2 separate regions of the Homo sapiens genome follow, and region 2 is linked to region 1. The links are contacts of gene promoters, found by promoter capture Hi-C in human tissues and cell types (Jung and others, 2019). All regions are on one chromosome and are shown on one strand. Each heading gives the region's core, a stretch centred on a gene start or on the middle of the fragment in contact. The rest is flanking DNA. Distances are from core to core; before and after follow the strand shown. Region 1 holds the start of SLC10A6 (solute carrier family 10 member 6). Region 2 overlaps PTPN13 (protein tyrosine phosphatase non-receptor type 13).

Region 1 (6,884 bases), core at 3,200-5,699:
TTGGCTCACTGCAACCTCTCACTCCCAGGTTCATGTGATTCTCCTGCCTCAGCCTCCCAAGTAGCTGGGAATACAGGTACCCACCACCACGCCCAGCTAATTTTTGTATTTTTAGTGGAGACAGGGTTTCATCATGTTGGTCAGGCTGATCTTGAACTCCTGACCTCAGGTGATCCTCCCACCTCAGCCTCCTAAAGTGCTGGGATTACAGGTGTGAGCCACCACGCCTGGCTGTTTTCTGCTGCTATAACAGAGTACCACGGACAAAGTAATTTATAAAGAAAAGATATTTATTTCGTTCATTGTTCTGGAGGCTGGGAAGCCCAAAATCATGGGCTTCCCAAAGGGTCACATCTGGCCAGGGCCTTCTTGCTGCATCGTAACATGTCAGAAGGCATCACATGGCATTCCCACTATAACGAACCCATTCTTCCCCACTATAACAGCATTCATCTATCCAGAGCCCTCATGACCTAATTACCTCTTAAAGGGCCCACTTCTCAACATTGTTAAAATGACAATTAAATGTCAACATGAGTTTTGGAAGGGACACTACAACCATGGAAGATGTTGATCACTTTTTTTCAAGTATTTTGTCTTTTTTTCTGGGAAGTGATAGTGTTTTTATTGTTGAGTTAAAAAAATACTGAATTTGGCTTTTTACCTTGTGTCATGTCTGAGTAAACAGTCTACTTTTTCCATTACTGCCAATTTCCTTTATATCTGTTTTGGATTTATCTCTCATGAATTTACGTAAACTCTTTTTGAACCTATAGGATTTTTCTGTCTTTCAAGCTTCTAGAAGTTTTACCCTGTGCTGCCTTTCAGAGCGTGGGAAACAGTTCCACAGCCAAGTCTGGTTACCTTTTCTTTTGGCACTTTCCCCTCAGACTTTACATTCCCAGCCTTTTCTGTTGGTTTTCCTGAGGAGTATCTTTCACCCCAAATTCTACTTACAGAGGCTGGAAGTACATGAAATACTTCCTGTGATTTGTAGAACTGGATCTCAAAATGAAGGTGCATACATATTGAACATATGTAGATGCCTTTTGAGTGTGTGAGAATAGAAGATAATGTTAGAGATTAGGGATTAGTTTATTTCTCCATCCTTAAGCCAAATAGTGGTGTTTTACCCCTGAGCTATGCCTAAGTGGTTGCCAGTCTTTTCCGCATGGTCTTGCTCTTGACTGCTTTTCATTGCTTCCACTTCAGTGTGCTCCAGGGAAGGAAACGAGGACAGGTGGAGAATTAGATTGAGATTTAAATCCCAATGTTATAATTTACCTGCTTAATAATCTTCGACAAATAATATGGCCCCAATGGGCCTTTGTTACTTCCTAGAATAAATGTGAGGATTAAGTGGGATCTCATAATCTGCCTCACTGGCTTGGGATGTAAAGTTGGTCATGCTTTTTAAAATTTTCTAATTAATCATTTGAATCTCTACTTACCAATAAGGGCAGGAAGTCTGCGATCCTGTATTTGAAATCTTCTTTACAAATTGACCGAGAACCCTAAGTGCTTACTCTTCCCAGGAAAATCTCCTTCCCATCTCCACTGGGGAGAAACTTGGAAAAGCCTGACCAGCCCGCTGGTAGGCCCTGGGATCACTGCGGTTGTTTCTGTTGGGACCTTTTGATGCATTGGCCCCACCCAGTCCAGTGGGCCTTTATCCATTGCCACCCTGTCCCTTCCGGTCCAGTCCTGGCACACAACATGGCGGTGTCCAAGCCTGGGCTCTCAAGATGACTTCTCTTCAGGTCATATCCATATACTTAGTCATTGTGTCCTGTGGCATCTGTCCAGGGTGACTGGACACAGAGGAACCTGTCATCAGGCAAGAAACCCCTGTCTTTCCTGGTGTGTGTTAGGACCAGCTGACCTCAGTCGGAAACATCCTAATTCTTTTGAGAAATTCTGATAACACTACTTTTTTTTTTTTTTTTTTTTTTTGAGACGGAGTCTCGCTCTGTCGTGCAGGCTGCCAGGCTGAAGTTTGGTGGCATAATCTCCGCTCACTGCAAGCTCCACCTCCCTGGTTCATGCCATTCTGCCACCTCAGCCTCCTGAGTAGCTGGAATTACAGGTGCCCGCCACCACACCTGGCTAATTTTTTTGTATTTTTAGTAGAGAATGGGTTTCACCGTGTTAGCCAGGATGGTCTCGATCTCCTGACCTCGTGATCCACCTGCCTCAGCCTCCCAAAGTGCTGGGATTACAGGCATGAGACACTGCGCCCGGCCAACACTACATTTTAAAAGAGAAGTGGCCAAGGTCACCTTTCTCCCTCTCCCAGGAGGCTCCTTAAGGCTGCTATGCATATTTAGCCCCCTCCCCTCTATCAGCACTGAGTACCCAGCAATCACAAAAGTTCCCGTCACACCATTCTCATCAGAAATGGGGGTGCTTATACCATCCTTATCAGGAATGGAGGTGCTTATACAAAACTTAAATTTGTATAACTAAAAAGGGCGATTCAAGTGACTCTTCCTGGGAACAAAGAAGGTTGACACTTTGGGAGGCTGAGGCGGGCAGATCACGAGGTCAGGAGATCGAGACCATCCTGGCTAACACTGAAACCCCGTCTCTACTAAAAATACAAAAAATTAGCCAGGCATGGTGGTGGTCGCCTGTAGTCCCAGCTACTCAGAAGGCTGAGGCAGGAGAATGGCATGAACCCGGGAGGCAGAGCTTGCAGTCAGCCGAGATCGCGCCACTCCACTGCACTCCAGCCTGGGCGACAGTAGGAGACTCCATCTCAAAAAAAAAAAAAAAAAAAAAAAGAAGGTTGACTAAGGGGCTTTTGGACATTATCTAGGCAGACACCCCTGACCCCTTCTCTTGCTAAATAAGTAAATAAAGTTCTGCTTCACCAGACATAGCCACATATGTGTAAAGCACCTAGCCACCTGTATTGGTCTGTTTTTACGCTGCTAATAAAGACATACCCAAGACTGGGTAATTTATAAAGGAAAAAGGTTTAATTGACTCACAGTTCCACATGGCTGGGGAGGCCTCACAATCATGGCAGAGGGGGAAGGGGAAGCAAGACACGTTTTACATGGTGGCAGAAAAGGCAAGAGCGTGTGTAGGGGAACTCCCCTTTATCAAACCATCAGAACTTGAGAGACTTATTCACTATCATGAGAACAGCACGGGAGAAACCCGCCCCCATGATTCAATGACCTTCCACCAGGTTCTTCCCATGACACATGGGAATTATAAGAGCTATAATTCAAGATGAGATTTGGGTGCGGGGGAAACACAGCCAAACCATATCACCACCTCTGTCACCCCTGAGAAGTGCTCAGAAAATGTTAGCTGTCTCCCTCCTCCCTTCCTCCTCAGCCTGACCACACCTCTGCATCATTCAAGCTGGGAACACCTTGCCTTCCAGAGACCTTTCCCGTTCCTCAGTGTCCATTCTCTGCAGGGCTCTGCGTAAATACGCCCTGTGCTGACTGACCCCTTATACGCAACCTCCAGGGAGGCTGGATGGCCAGAGCTGCCTTCAGGGTTTGTTTGCCAAAGGCAGTTTATTCTTTCTTCAAATAGTTAGAATTTACTTCACATTTGAATCTAACTTGTATTTTTATACAGTCAGCATGTCCTGAGCATTCTGTCATGGAGAAGAATTTGCTCATCCATGAATAAACAATGCATAGCTAGTATCCCTCTTGAGACAGGTAGAGGCGTTTATGAAGTGTGCCTTGTTACTAGCCTGTGCCCCACAAATAAACTTTCTGCTGTGAGAAGGGGTGTGGCACCTGCTTTTTCAGAGGTTTAGTTTCACAGAACCATACAGTCCTTGGGTTTTGCCAGCAGTGCCTGCTTAGAATGCACAGAGGGGCCCTGGGCACTGTGGTCAGAGGCTGTCCTCAGACCCCATCTCCATTTCAGACCAAGCTCTTTACCACATCCCCTTGCAGGATTCCCAGATGTCCCTAGGAGGCCAGGGGTATGTATCTCAAAGTAGACTCTTATCTCCAAAAGCAAGTGAGAGCTCCCTTGAATTATTTTGGGTGAAGGAATTAGTTTTCACATGTTTCATGAGACATAATTAGGTGCCTAATACCATATTATTCTCACAGGTGTTTAATTATTGACTTTAGACACAAATTCTAATAGAACTAGAAGAAAAACTGAGACAAATTCTGAAGCTCCTTGAAATTATTCTTAGTCCCTCCTGACATTTCCTCCACCGGCGTTTTTTTTCTTTTTGCTCTATTTCCAGCAGACACGCTTTGCTAATGCTACAAGGTGTGGCTTTGGCTTTGTTGTTTTTTCCGGAGTTAGCTTTTCTGTCTGTGCATCCTGGCTCTTTGAAATCCCAACTGAATTTGGAGAAATTATTTCTTGGCATCCACCCTACTTTCCAGGGACACAATGTGATGCTGACGACATAGCCCGGTCACTCCACTTGACAACAAGTTTGTTTGTCTCATCTCACATACATATTCAGTGGTGAGTAAGAACAGAAGTGGAAAGCCTTACTTACCACAGTTTATTATATGTTTCATGCCTGTGATAATTACTTTTATAATGCCACTTGTGAAAAAATTGATCAGATTAGGATGAATCACCTTGCTGGCCAACAGTTATTGGAATGATTCTCCATGTGTGACTTCGTTGCACTATTACAAAATGTGGCAGGATAGACCTGCCCAGCCATTGTTGCCGATGTTCATTTGTAATGCTGCCTTAAGGAGATGAGGAGATGAGAGCCAATTGTTCCAGCAGCTCAGCCTGCCCTGCCAACAGTTCAGAGGAGGAGCTGCCAGTGGGACTGGAGGTGCATGGAAACCTGGAGCTCGTTTTCACAGTGGTGTCCACTGTGATGATGGGGCTGCTCATGTTCTCTTTGGGATGTTCCGTGGAGATCCGGAAGCTGTGGTCGCACATCAGGAGACCCTGGGGCATTGCTGTGGGACTGCTCTGCCAGTTTGGGCTCATGCCTTTTACAGCTTATCTCCTGGCCATTAGCTTTTCTCTGAAGCCAGTCCAAGCTATTGCTGTTCTCATCATGGGCTGCTGCCCGGGGGGCACCATCTCTAACATTTTCACCTTCTGGGTTGATGGAGATATGGATCTCAGGTAAGTAACCCCAGGGAAGCTCAGCAGTCTGTCTCTTATCCTGCCTAGGGGGAATAACTGAAACTCTTGTGTTAAACACTCTTCTAATCTTTTGGTAGAGATTCTAGTGGGAAATGTTACAAATATCACAGAGACTTGTTCAGCCATGGGTGGGCTTTCCTTTCAGTGCTCAAAAGTTACTTTGCTGATGATCATTTTCTTTATTGGCTACTGTTCTGAGCAGTGGGATGCGTTCTGAGCAGTGGAGGCAGGTCTGCACCTCACCCAGTGGCCCTTCCTAAGCTTGAGCTCATTCTTACCTACACTGGCCTCTTTAGCAACTCCTAGGACTTAAACCAAGAATCCCAAGAAGCTAACGATTGTGGTTTGGTAGCAGCCGTCGTGGTTGTGTCAGTGGCATAGTCAGAATGAGACTCCCGTAGCTCCAGTCAGTGATGCCTGAGCACCTACTTTAGGAAAGAAGCACTTTAGAGGACTGGATAAAGGAGCTTTAGGGGTGTCTGGTGGCCATATCCAGCTTTAAGTGCTGAGATGGCTTGTCGATTTGACTTCAGGAGCAATGCGAAGGCTCTCAGGACTAAAATTGTTCTTTCTTGTTGCTTTGCAGATCGTTAACATCATCACTAGATTCGCATTCCTTCCCTTTAAGCCAGTGACCTTATTCCCAATTATGGTGTAGATAAATACCTCTGGGAGACATTAAGCCTTGTCCCTTATTTACACTTTAATGAGGATGAATTAGTCACATGCTTTTCTGGATTACATGTTTTGATGGGGGAAAAAAAGAGCATTTGAGGAAAGAGTAGAGGGATAGCACTGGAAAAAGAGCTAAAAACAATGGTCTCTCGAGACTCTTTGCTTACTTGTGAACATGCCGTTTCACTTCCTGCCCTGGGGAAGAACTGCTTATAAATTTAAGTATTTGTTTCATGTGTATGTCATTTAGTTGAGATTCACTTTACCATGAATGAATGAATCAGAGGTAATGACTGAGCTGGGAGTTGACATCAGTGAGAGTCAGCTGCAGGTATGTGTTTCCAGTTTTCCGCTTGTGCTGAATGTTTAGCGTATGGAACATATTTCACCTATAAATTTTAATGGGCTCATACCATGCAGAATAGGAACTAACTTTCCCAAGGCAGTGTTTTTGTTTACCCACTTATGAGAGATTTGAAAAAAAAATAACTTGATGAATTTTGTGTTTTACCTTAATGGTAAAAGCCACTCATATACAAAGCCACTAATATACACTGCTTTTGTGTTTTACCTTAATGGTAAAAGCCATTAATATACATTGCTAATTCAAATTCAGTAAAGTTGATTATTTAACTGGGAAATGATAGATATTCTTTGCATGAAGTTCATAAATCAGAGATAAATTCCAGGACCTAAAAGTTTTTGGAAAGAAAAAGGAAACTAATATTTATTAAGTGCCCCATAGGCATGGGATAGATGCTTTCATGCTTATTTTCTTCTTGGGGCTCATAATAACCTTGTAAATGGCCTTTTATTGTTCTGAATTTTACAGCTGAGAAAATTGTGATTCAGATTGGTTAAGTAGCTTGCCAAATGCTACAAACCAGTATGGCAGAACTCAGATTTGAATTCTCATCTGTTTTACATCAGTCTGCAGTTTAGGCACATTTCCCCCATGGCATTTAGCAACACAACTAGATCTTCTGTTTTGAATAGCAGCATAAATCTTCAGTGTTCTCAAACACTTGTGTTCTGGGAAAGAGAACATTTATTACCTTAATCTCTTATTAGTCAATGTTGTCATAAAAACACCA
Region 2 (6,884 bases), core at 2,129-4,628, 160 kb after region 1:
ATGTTCACTATGTCTCCCAAAAGATTATTTCAGCTTGCTATTGATATTCATCTATAAGTTTGTTATTATTCGATTCTAAAATAGGAGACTGACTGCAAATTTGATCAATTAACAAATTGCTGCTATTATTAGTGCTAAAGTTTACACTATATACTATCTCAAATCCTAGAATAGTATAAAAATAAACATATTTTTACCTACAAAAAGAAAGTGACAAAAGTACAGTATGGGGACATAAGTATAGGAAGGAAATATTTGCAAGAAAGGATGAAAAATACTTTCAAAATTGTTACCACACTGTTATTTTTTTGGCCCATATATAAACTAATCATATATGCATTAGAAAAAAACTCTGATCTAACCAGAAATAAATTACTATACCAATGAAATGAAAGCTAAAATATCTTTTCAGATAGTCTTTATTCACAATAATTAAAATGGAAGCACCAAAACAGATACTTAACTGTACCATTACAAAATCACTCCCTTAGAAACAATTTTACTGCTTTTCTTTAACTTACACATTCCTTCCTCTCAGATATGAGAGTTCTGACTCTGTAAAACATTTGGTCCAGATAGTCAAGGTCTACATTTATTTTTCACAATTAGAGTTGCTCATAGGTTTTAAGTAAGACAGGTTTCTCTGATGCTCTGATTAAATTAAAATCTTAACTTTTTAATCTATTTTATTAAGCTATATCAATTAGAATATATTTTGTTAGAATATATTTAAGCAATCTGTACATTTACTTCTACCTAGCCCCAAGATCTAGGACAAGATCTAAAAAAGTATTTCTGTTAATGTTTAGATTATCATGATTCTCAAAACTGCTTGATAAGAAGAGAACAAAGATAATCAACAAAATCAAAAGTTTATTTTATAAATAAGCCATGCCTGAAAGTAGCAATGAAAAATAAATTGTCACATAAAATTATATTTACTTTTATTTCAAGTGTTTGAAATTTCCATTCTTTTTTTTTTTTTTTTTTTTTTTTTGAGACAGAAGTTCACTCTTTGTTGCCCAGGCTGGAGCACAGTGGTGTGATCTCGGCTAACTGCAACCTCTGCCTCCCCGGTTCAAGATTCTCCTGTCTCAGCCTCCCGAGTAGCTGGGATTACAGGTGCCTGCCACCATGCCCGGCTAATTTTTGTATTTTTAGAGAGATGGGATTTCACTATGTTGGCCAGGCTGGTCTCGAACTCCTGACCTCAGGTGATCCGCCCACCTCAGCCTCCCAAAGCACTGGGATTACAGGCGTGAGCCACCACGCCTGGCCTGAAATTTCCATTCATTTCTTTCAAAAAAATAAATTTAATACTTATCATAGGATACAGAATTATATAATGCTATTGACAAATAGCAAAATCACTACTCATCATTAGTTTTTATTTACTAAGTATCACATGACCTAAGGTAGTATTTGATAACTCCATGATAAAATCTATTTAGTGAGTTATTACTAGCATTTAAAAAAAAAAAGAAATATGATAAAAAATATCAGAGTGCAGTAAGAAAAACGTTTTCTGAAACTTTTGTTTCAGTAGTGTTTATGTTCATAAACATATACATGTGTTTATTTAGTCATGCTTTAAAAAGTATTTTTAATATGAAATACCACGATAAAGTAAATAAATATTATTATTATTGATATACCAATACTGGAAAGGGAAATAAGTTACTCTGGGAATCCTAAGTATATTAATAATGTTTTCTGTATAAGTTTAATGAAATTATTTTTAATGTAGCTAGTGTTCCTGCCCATTCCCTACCTCCAGTTTGTACGTTTACGTTCTAATCATAGTCTCAATTACCAGATTTCAAAGCCAGGTAAGTATAATTTTGTAAAGAAAACAATGGGATAAGGTTAAAGCCTAGACATTTCCTATTAATATACTCTTACCTGTTGGTAATCCTTTTCCTCGCAATCGATCTCGAATAGCCTGGCTTCGATCAGGCTTTTGTTCACTGTTACAGGAAAGCTGATCTGTCTGTACACAGGTAATAAAAAATCAAGTTTGACAAAAGGATCTCCCTTTTGTTTTCATGGTAACTGTTTACAGAATGACACTAGTTACACAGTTTTTGGAGGATGTAACATTAAATAATGAGACTCTATGTCCTATTGTATTTGTAGGGTAATTTGTATTCTTGGATAAGATTTATGTAGACCAGTGCTGGCCAATTCATTTCAGAAAATTAAAAGGGAAGAAGCAGTGACTGAAGAGTAACCTACTAACTAGAAAATACCATCAGATTAAACTTGTTAAAATGAGTTCTATTTGAAAACAGTAAACTTGAAGTCTTCTTTTTTCCCCAACCACTAACTACTCTTAAGTTAGTTTATAATTTAAAAACCACATTAATTTTGGTATAATAAAGCTTTCTCTTGATTATAACTATGAATTGAGGAATTTAAATTACTTTCAGAAATAATTTTATAGATCTTGCCCTTCAGAAATTACATTTGTGAAATGCTAAGTCTTTTTTTTTTTTTTTTTTTTTTAAATATAACGGAGTCTCACTCTGTCACCCAGGTTGGAGGACCTCGGTTCACTGCAACCTCTGCCTCCCAGGTTCAAGCGATTCTCATGCCTTAGCCTCCAGAGTAGCTGGGACTACTGGTGCATACCACCACACCAGCTAATTTTTGTATTTTAAGTAGAGACAGGGTTTCACCATGTTGGCCAGGCTGGTCTTGAACTCCTGACATCAAGTGATCTGCCTGCCTTGGCCTCCCAAAGTGCTGGGATTACAGGCGTGATCCACTATGCCTGGCCGAGAAATGCTAAGTCTTTAAATGGACGCTCTGAGGGATAACAAATTTAAATCAATGCTCTTTTAAGTTCCCTTTAAAACAAAATGTAATCTTAAAGTTTAATAGCTTTAGCAAAGGGTATCTGCTTGAAATAAAGTATGTCAAATTAGGTCAAACTCCACACTATAAGGGATAAAAAACTGGACAGACCACTGTTTTATTCAGGTGGCCAAATAGAGGAGAAATGTCAATATAAATGGAAGAAGAGAGAATGGTGAAGAGAAATTACTTAAATCTAGCACCAAAAGCATGCATACATATTTGTTTACACACACACAAACTCGCACATACCACAGAAATGTTTTAATATTGCTCCATTAGTGAATTTTGCTGAAGTATGGATTAAAAACCCATCTAAGGTGGTATATTCAAGGCTCAAGCATTATGTTTTCTACCTATAAGAAGACTTGTAAATGGAAGTATTTCTGAAATCATGTTATCAGTTAAGTTGCATAAATGATGTTAGTCCAGATTACACTGTACTGTCAGTGACTGAAAAGACAGTATTACTAACATCCCACATCTTTGAAAATTCCTGCATTGAAGTTAGTTACTATTAATAACTGTTGTTTATTGAACAGTTACTATATGCTAGGCACACACTTTGTGCTATTTAATCCTCAAACAACCTCATATGGTAGACAATATTATCCTCATATTATAAATAAAGGGAGAAATAGCAAAGAAACTTCTAAGGACCACAAAGCAGCTCATTAATGTGGAAATAACTACTTTTACAACAGTTTAATAATATGGATGATTGACACATATTATTATTATTCCTATTTTGCAGATAAGTAAAATTGTGGTCCAAATATTATAACATTAAATCAGTGGAAAAACCTAGACAAGTAAGCTGGCTTGCTGACTTTTACTCACGCTAATTAATGTTAAGTAAGAATGATGGTCACTCAGAATGAATTTCACACCAGTGAAAGACTAACTCATTCTGTCAGCTACTGGAGGCAACAAAAGCTTTAAGGAATATACTGGGGTCAAAAACACCCCAGTTCCAATTATGTCTCCATCATTTACCGTATCTGTGACTATGTGCAAGTTATTTAATCTTTCTTAGCCTTAGTTTTATGCCCTCTAAAATGAGGATAAAAGTATCTCTATTAAATTGAGGTTGTTATGATGAATAATGTGATAATGCACATCAACCCCTTAGCATAGTGTCTGGCACAAAGTAAACAAACACTTAAAAAACAGTAGCTGTTGGAGTTACTTCTACCCAGTGATGTCTAGGAGATGAGGAAGAGCAATAGAAAGGTAAGGGGAGCATTATTATACTTAGTAAAAATTTGTCTTTGTGAAGAGAGGCTCTCTACATGCTGATTCCAACTGATCCTTCTATTTTTCTCTCCCATTAAATAACCCCACAATACACCCCATGTCATACTGTTCCCCAAACATTCCTGCTTTCCCATTTCACAGCCTTTATCCAGGTTCACTTCCCTCTGCCGAGATTATCTAGCCTATAGGATACAGTTCGAAGTGCTATTTTTAATTTTAACTTTTTTTTTTTTTTTTGAGGTAGGGCCTTACTCTGTTGCCTAGGTTGGACTGCAGTGGTGCAATCATGCCTCACTACAGCCTCGACCTCCCAGGCTCAAGTAGTCCTCCCATCTCAGCCTCCTGAGTAGCTGGGACTAAAGGCATGCATCACCATGCTCAGCTTCAAAGTGCTATTTTTCAATGCAGTCATAATTTGTATCCTTTTCCTTTAAACTCTCATAGCTGTTAAAATTTTTACTATGTATCATTTTATAGCCTTCTTTCATTTTATAATTAAGCAAATGGTTATGGCATTTTAGATAAGAGCTCCTAGATCAAATATTTTATTCAAATTTGTATCTTCTATAATCCCTAGCACAGGTTTCATACATAAATGAACAATAAAGATCCACTATAATAAAGAGAACTAAATGCTAAACCTTAAAGGGATGAAGATTTTATATGTAATATGGGCAATTATTAGATAGGTAATATAATTTCTATGGTGACAGAAAAAAAATTCTTCATTCAAAGACAGAAAAAAATATCTCTCACAATTTTACTATAGGAGTAAAATTAGCAAGCAGCACAAAAGTCTTAGAGAAAGTGTGGTGTAATAAAAAAGTCCCTGGACTGTCTAATAGGAAACTCAAATCCCATAGTTGTTTGGGTATCAGTTTCCTTATCCATAAAGTGAAGTTTTAAAGAATATTAGTCTTATGAGAATGTCTGAAAAAAAGACCTCCAAGACCAAGAAAGTTTGGGAAATGCTTTATTTACATGCCTATTCTTCTTGAAGGTTAGTAATATAGTCTAGTATATTAAAGGTTCTAAGAAGTTCTCCAGTGAAAATACATTTAATTTCCTTTAAATAGTTTCTTCTCAAGCTTATTTGGTCATAGAGGAATTTTTAAAACAAAAATATTGAAAACAATATGAGAAACTTTGGTCTGGACAGATGGTTTTCAAAGATTTTTTAATAGCTTTACCTTTGTTCAAAAAAATCACACGCAGAAATATAAACAGATCAAATAAAACTGGAGCTGCTCTAGTTAAAGAGGGAAAATGGGCAACCAAGAACTCCATTTATTCGGCCTCTACTTCCTACATTTCCCTTCACTATAGAACCGCAAAGGTTTCTTGAGGGAGAGTTTACAAACCATTTGTCTAGAAGATCTGTGGGCCTGTTTGTTATCAACTGAAAAACTGTGCAGAATTTGAATACATTCCTGGCAGCCATCTGACATCCTGGTTAAGATGGGAACTAAACCCCTACCGATGAGGAATTCTGAGGAAGTCAACAAGAACACTGTGTGGCAGTGGTAAATTTGTAACCTGTGCAAGGAAGAGGGACCAACACTCCAGGACTACAACCCTAAGGATAAGAGCAGATAAAGTATAGATCCAGATCAGATAGGGCAAACAAGATAAAATACAGCCTTAGAAATGCAGAACAGAGGTGGGACTTTCAGGTAATATATAGCATTGGTTATTCTTGGGATTCTTCATATCCAAAACAAGAGAAAAACTAGAAGAGTCCAGGTCTTGGGGAAATCTGGCAGGGATACAAGCATGGATTCCCTGGATACACTAGGTAGCAGTGTTCCGAGAAGAAGGGAAAGTGGAGAAGGTTTGGGAAATACCTAGAAGATCCAGACAAATGAGTGGTCACGAAACAGGTATAAAGCAACAGAAAGTACATTTAAATATTTCTAAAACCCATTTTCATGTTAATACATTTTTTCTAGGTGTTCACAATAGAAGCATTTGCTAAAAGCTCCTTGGGAAAAGATCTAAGAAAGAAAACAAGAGGAGACACTTTCAGCTCAAACATGCTATCATTCTATGATATTTTTGGGAATAATTCTCACAAAATCTAGACTTATTGCAATGAGCTTCTAAATTTTAAGTATTGTTTCAAATAAACAATTTATATTAGAAGAAGAAATTCAATTTTCCATTTCTAGTCTTCATTGAGAAAATGCTACCTATATAGTATCCTTAAAGAAAATTTTGTGATATCTACTAAATTTTAAAATATGACTATATTTACTATTGTAACTGTAGCTTACCCCAGAAAGATTTCCCAGAACCAGTTTTACCAAGTGTTTCACGTAGGAAAATGAGGGTGCACAATTGCTATTCCTAATGTGGGCACTGCAAGCATCCAGCACAGTCCGAACAGAAACTCGAGCGTAAATAACATCCTCACACATTCCAAGCAGTATGCTGTTGAGATGATCTCCAAGCTTAATAGGCTGAATATAAATAAAGGAAAAGCCAGTGAGTAAATGTGAGCAAATATTTTTTCTAATGAGACAAATCATTCTAGGAATCACAGGAACCACACTAAAACACACTTCACATACTTGGAGGAAATAAATTCCTTTTTATCAGCATAAGCATTTTACTGTGTTTTACCTTTTTTAAAAATATATTAGCAGAAGATAGTTAACTTATACTTCCCTAGAAAGGAAGTACAGAAAAACTCTGGGCATTTTTAAATATAAAGTAAAGTAGTGAAATTCTTGGCTTATTCAAATGTTTTGATAAACAGTTACTACATGTAC

What was found. Contacts are between HindIII fragments. The study calls those that stand out against the background at their distance.
Region 2: a fragment that was not itself captured here is called in contact with the fragment with the promoter of SLC10A6 in region 1 in 2 of the 25 tissues and cell types used here (dorsolateral prefrontal cortex and pancreas).

What each region holds. Positions count from the first base shown.
Region 1 is chr4:86,846,949-86,853,832 of GRCh38, reverse strand. SLC10A6 (solute carrier family 10 member 6) reads left to right here and starts at 4,449. Exons shown (of 6, transcript NM_197965.3): 1 at 4,449-5,094. The coding sequence starts at 4,718. The HindIII fragment of the contact is 7,017 bases long and covers 1-6,479 here.
Region 2 is chr4:86,688,693-86,695,576 of GRCh38, reverse strand. It overlaps PTPN13 (protein tyrosine phosphatase non-receptor type 13), which reads right to left. Exons shown (of 48, transcript NM_080683.3): 5 at 6,387-6,572; 6 at 1,903-1,990. Among named protein-coding and RNA genes, the nearest start is that of PTPN13, 98 kb to the right of the region's middle. The HindIII fragment of the contact is 5,009 bases long and covers 874-5,882 here.